Linked DNA regions of Homo sapiens: region 2 is linked to region 1. The links are contacts of gene promoters, found by promoter capture Hi-C in human tissues and cell types (Jung and others, 2019). All regions are on one chromosome and are shown on one strand. The core of a region is centred on a gene start or on the middle of the fragment in contact, and the rest is flanking DNA. Distances in the headings are between cores, read along the strand shown.

Region 1 (2,921 bases), core at 115-2,614:
AACAACACTATTCATTTAACATAATGAATTGCCATGTAATAACTCAGATCTTCCCAGGGTGTAAATTACACAAATTTGAAAGATGCATTTATTATTTAATGCCTCATTCCCAGACAGTTGCTTACTCAGTAGCAAAATCTGTCTTAGCATACCAAGTGTAAAGCTATTTAACAAATAGGAAGGTTTAAAAAATATATACTATCATGCAGACAGCTAAAATATTTGTATATATTTTTAATCTTTTTTCTCTAATGATACTTAGAATATTTTATTTTTATTACTACAAATAATAGAGATGAAATATGAATTGTATTAGTAGCAGAGATATATGAGCTAAAGCTTGTATTGTTTAAAGCACATCATCTTAAAAGGCCTGTCAGGAAACAGTGTTCATATTAAGTTGGCTTTCAGTACTCTAAGAAGATGACATCATTTTGTAAGAGACAAGTGTTGTTAGAGCAAATGCTAGGATATTCTAAAATTTCCTAGGTTGAAGTGAAGAAATTTCTCATTATAGATTATTTCATGAGTTTATGTTCCCGGTTGTATATCAGCTCATGTTAAATTTTGCAAGAGTTTATGATTTCTAAGAACTCACCTTCTATAAGGCCCTTTGCTGAGTGGGGCTAGTTAGGAATTAGTAAGTAAAGGGGATCTTTTTTCCTCGTGTAAATAGCTTAAGAGTAATTTTGGGCGGTCCAGAAACCATAAGTTATCAGGAAGGTGCTTATAAATGGGCAGAGTACATCACTTGCCCAAGATTCTAACAACCTAGCCTGCCCCCCACACACTGTGGGGCACCGTTTGCTACTTGCCAAGTAACTGCCTTTTTTGGCAAAGACCACCCAGGACATGGCTCAGAGTCCATCCTAAGGCTGGCCAACCTCTGTAAATCTCGTGTCCCCTGATTCAGAGCGAGTGCATTTAATTCAGGAAGATCACTTACGACTGAGTTTTTCATCATGGCTTTGACTGTGAAACCCTCAGAAACCAGAGAGTGAGGCTGGTGCACCGGGAGCGGCTGTTGTGCCAGCAGCTTGGTCCTCTTCGGCATCTTGTCTGGGCATTTGTTTAAGCTCAGGGTCTCTTTTTCTGCCACCATCTTCCTAGAAAATGTCTTGTTCTCATAAAAAGTGTAGTAAAAGAATCAGTGGGCTTTACGGATGTGAGCAGGAGGTCTGGAAAAAAATATCAAAAGGCGCGATAATGGTAGAAATTCAACCCCTCGTAGTGCCCAGGTTGATCCAGATGTTTGGCAGCTCCTAGGTGAAGGGAGCTGGACCCTAGGGGCGGGGCGGGAAGAGGGCAGGACCTTGGCTAGAGCTGCAACAAGCTTCCAAAGGTAAGCCTCCCGGTTGCTAAGCGACTGGTCAACACGGCGGGCGCATAGCCCCGCCCCCCGGTGACGTAAGATTGCTGGGCCTGAAGCCGGAAAGGGCGGCGGTGGGGGGCTGGGGGCAGGAGGCGTGAGGAGAAACTACGCGTTAGAACTACGACTCCCAGCAGGCCCTGGGCCGCGCCCTCCGCGCGTGCGCATTCCTAGGGCCGGGCGCGGGGGCGGGGAGGCCTGGAGGATTTAACCCAGGAGAGCCGCTGGTGGGAGGCGCGGCTGGCGCCGCTGCGCGCATGGGCCTGTTCCTGGCCCGCAGCCGCCACCTACCCAGTGACCATGATAGGTACGTGGGTACCTGCCAGGTACAGCCTCTCTGCGCCGCCCCACGCCCCGGTATGGCGCCACGCCCCGCCTCGGCCGACCAGGACCCCCGGTGCCAACTGTCAATGACGGGGCCAAAGTGCCCGTGCCGTCCCCGGCCCGCGCCGCCGGGCTCCCCAGCTCAGCGACGCGGGTCCGGGGCCCCAGTGTGTGCGTTCGAAGCCCTCGCCTGCCCGCCCCTGCTCTGAGCGTTCTCATGAAGACCGCCTCGACGGGGACGCCAGGCGGCCCCGCACCCCCGCTCCTCGTTCGCGGTCCCCCGGACCGTGTGGGGTCCCGAAGCCTTCTCCCCGCCGCCGCCCCTCACCTTCGCCCCGCCGCCGCCCCTCACCTTCGCCCCTCACCTCACTGGCCGGTTGTGGTGCGGTTCAGGACCCATCGAGACCCACTCTCTGTGGGGCTCTTTCAGGAAACCGCAGCAAAGCATTAAACTCTAATGGAAGGCACCTGGTGAGGGTGGCTGGCTCCACAGAAACTCCTCCAGATAGATCTAAACTTGCTCCCTCGGATGTTTCCTTTTAAACTTCTCATTGGAGGGCTGAGATGAAAGAAACATTAAGAGTAAATAGTAGCCAAGATTAAATCTATTGCCTTTTGCAAAATAACCTTTCTTTTTTTTTTTTGTAAAAGAACGACCGAGGTGCAAGTTTGTGAACGAAACTTAGTGGCATCAGAGTTGTTCATGAACACTTGATGTGTAAGATGAGCAAAGGTCCTCTCTTCCAGGGTTGTTGAGCCAAAAGTTACTTTAGGGGCTATCCCTGAAAATTAATGGAAATGCACCATATGTTTGAAAAACAGTGCTAGATGGGGTTTCATTATTGTGGAGGTTTCTCCAGGTTATGTATGGAGGGTTTAGTGAGCTTGTTTATTCCTGAGGAGGGTCCTTTACAAAACACTTTTGATTGCAGTAAGTACGTTCGAAGTCAGATGTGGTCTGTCCAGAAGAAAGATGAGAGGTGGATTTATAAAGTATATGATCTTTATGCACTGAAAACACTTCTTACATCTGTTTATTTGTGAAGTTATTGTTAAAATGTAAACATTCTCCCCATCAGTGGGAGAATCAAGCCAGCTAACTGGCATGGTCTTTGTGGTAAAACAAGAATGTTGTCCAACTTTTCTTCCCTTTCTAGCATGGTCTGACTTTTGGTGAATGACTTGAAAGTTAATCAAATTACGAAAAAAATATTTTTTATGAGTCTTC
Region 2 (2,886 bases), core at 20-2,519, 530 kb after region 1:
TTCTATTTTTCTCCAATTCTCATCCAGTGTTTTTACAAAGAGACTCCATGAGGTTAAGTAATGAGCCCAAAGTTACACAGTTCATAAATATCGAAGCCAGGAGTGAAAAATCTGCTTTGTATTTTTCCATAGCCCTGGCCTTTACTAGGATATAGTCCTCACTATACAAATCTAGTAATCAGTGTTCTATTTTCTAACTACTTCCCTTGTACTTAAAATATAACTGAAACATACTCTTGAAAAAAATATGCTTATGGATTTAGGGACAATTAAATCAAAGATAACTTATATAATCCATATTTTAGTACAGTAACTAGATCTAGTGTAGCTAGTCCATAGGAGAAGATCAGATGTTTCAATTTTTCAATAACAAAAATACACATTCAGTAACACCTACAAATAATATTTCTGTGGATCAGCCGACCAGTCACACTACTGATTCACCAGCAAATTTAGGCTTTGCAATAATGGAGTAGGTGCTAAACTTTGCCAAGTGTAAAGATTGCTGTGTGAATAATAGGCAATTCTGAGGTTTCATTTTCTAGAACTTTATAAGGATCGATAACTTACATAATTGTCTCTGATCAAGAACAAAAATACAATATAGGATCTTGTGTGGCTGACTAGTTATAGGTGAGCAGCATGTGGTTTATGTGAACTTCAGCAAGATTTTTATACCTAAGGAGGAAAACTGGAACCTGGTTAGCCACCTGGGTTATTTTTGAAAGTATAATTGTATTTTTTCTCATTTGGAAAAATCAGTTTGCAACGAGATCCACTCATATCATGAGTCTAAATGGTAATCTTCTAAAGTTTTTATTGGTGATTTGTTCTTAATTCTAACATTTCCTGAATGCTATTTAAAATTTACATGTAATAATAATGAGTTGCTTTTCAAATGTGATGCTCCAGTTTAATCATGTTTCACATTTAATATGATACTCTAACAAATTGTAAAGGAAATGGATAGTTAATTTTGTCCTGATGTTAGGCATGGGGAACTGATGTCTGAAGTTTTCACCTGACCTCATAGGTAAGTTGAGAACCAACCCGGACTCAAATTTTCTTCATCTCCATATCAGAATATCCTCTTTCTTGCATGGTGACCTTGATCAGAGTTTGGACTAGACTATAATCCTTTAGAAATATGAATGCTTACTGGAAAACGGTGAACAATAGCTAATTGGCAAGCATTCACTTTTCATCTGCTTCTTCAAAAGTCATCCACTGAGGTCCATGCAGAAATGAGACAGAGTTGAACACACAAGGGAGGTTGTTTTATATGTGCATATTTAATTCTGATTGGGTTCCTGACCAATGAAATTAATAATTTAAAATAACTCATGTCATTGTTTCCTTGAAATATTTCCCTAGCACCAATTTATATCAACAAACTTTATCAGAGACTGTATTAATTTTTAATTATTTTGACTGGGCTGGTAAGGTTAATTTGACTCCATGGCAATGGTAAGTCTGTCCCTTGGCATGATTTGAAAACCAAGCCTCCTCCTTCCCCTGAAGGCTTCTCACTAAATCCTAACAGTACTCTTTCTGATCATGGCTGAGGAGTCCTGTCCCTTGCTACTATCATTGTCTTGGCCATAGCCCATATTTCAACTGACTTGTGCCTCCTCAAGAAAGCAAAGCCCCTGGGATAGGAAGTAACTGACTAGTCTTTGGAACAGAAAATTGGCTTAAAATATAGTAAGGCTTTTTATAGAGTGAAATACTTGATTGACTTTAATAATAATTAGAAGATAGAATTGACATAGAAGTGAGCTGAGAGCACATACAGCATCTGGTCTTGAAATATTTTCCTGGGAGCAAAATTCTCCAGGACTCTAGTTCTGATTAAGGTTATGAATTGCTAATCCCTCCAGGACAAACTCTAGGTAACCAGAGTTATCCACCATTAACATCTTTTTGTTTGTACTCAGTTTATTGGTCTTAAAATGAATCAGAAGCCAGGAGATTACTGTAGCCAAGAACTTTGGGTGACCCCCTCCCCGCTACAATCACCGTAATTACTTTATCTCAAAAAGAACTTTATCTTTGCCACTCTAATGAGATACTCTGCCATGGAATAGCATTAAAGCTAAAAGGTTTCTGATGAGAAATGGTGCAATAAATAGAGTAAGATGTAAAGTGCCTGGCATGATGGATTTTGTTTAAAATTAGTTTATAGATTAGGCACAATTTATGTGAGGAAATTTATTAAGAAATACAGTCTAAATGTAAAATCATTCCTAAGCTTAATATTTGTTACAGATTAATTGTTGGCCAGGAGTCTTCTTACCTCTCTTGTTATCAAAATTACTCTCACATTTATGTAAGAAATTCAAGTCTTAGAATAGACCTAAGCTTACTTTCTAGTTTTCACATGGGGTGTTTTTGCCTAAGTGTGTGATATCCCCTCTTTGCTTATTGTAGATTTGGTTATCAGGCGTTTCAGTGCTTTGAAAGCACAGTGGAGGAGGCATTACGCATTATTTTATGTTATTGACAGTATTTGTAGGGCATGTTTTGGATGTCCCGACAGTGAGAGTGGAACCGGCCACCATGCATTCTGTTTTGCATCGCGTTACAGTGTTAAATCTACAGCGAAGCTGGTTTCTGTGTGGATTCATAAGCTCCAGGGTGGAAAGTGTGCAGAACACAATGCATGTCTGGCATCTACCAAAGCCAGGGTGGCCCCCGTGTTCACTGTCGCCCTTCACGCCACCATCTGTTCTGCCACGAGATTTCTCTTGGCCTTGTGGACGCTTCTTACTTCATCTCCTTTTCACGCCCACTCTCTTTGCTTGTGTTCTCCTTGGTCCTTATCACGGGCTCTCATCCACACACAAATGATGCACACTCACCTCGCAAAGAGCCAGTCGATAGAGA

Evidence for each region. The method cuts DNA at HindIII sites, captures the fragments that hold promoters and counts their contacts. A contact is called where the count stands out against the background at its distance.
Region 2: a fragment that was not itself captured here is called in contact with the fragment with the promoter of PACRG in region 1 in 1 of the 25 tissues and cell types used here (heart left ventricle).

Annotation. Positions count from the first base shown.
Region 1 is chr6:162,726,417-162,729,337 of GRCh38, reverse strand. It overlaps PACRG (parkin coregulated), which reads right to left and starts at 1,364. Exons shown (of 5, transcript NM_001080379.2): 1 at 947-1,364. The coding sequence starts at 1,102. It overlaps PRKN (parkin RBR E3 ubiquitin protein ligase), which reads left to right and starts at 1,572. Exons shown (of 12, transcript NM_004562.3): 1 at 1,572-1,676. The coding sequence starts at 1,670. RefSeq lists silencers at 1,744-1,965, 1,455-1,994. The HindIII fragment of the contact is 3,880 bases long and covers 837-2,921 here.
Region 2 is chr6:162,194,819-162,197,704 of GRCh38, reverse strand. All of the region lies in intron 4 of PRKN (parkin RBR E3 ubiquitin protein ligase), which reads left to right. Among named protein-coding and RNA genes, the nearest start is that of LNCR-SMAL, 39 kb to the left of the region's middle. The HindIII fragment of the contact is 3,906 bases long and covers 1-2,886 here.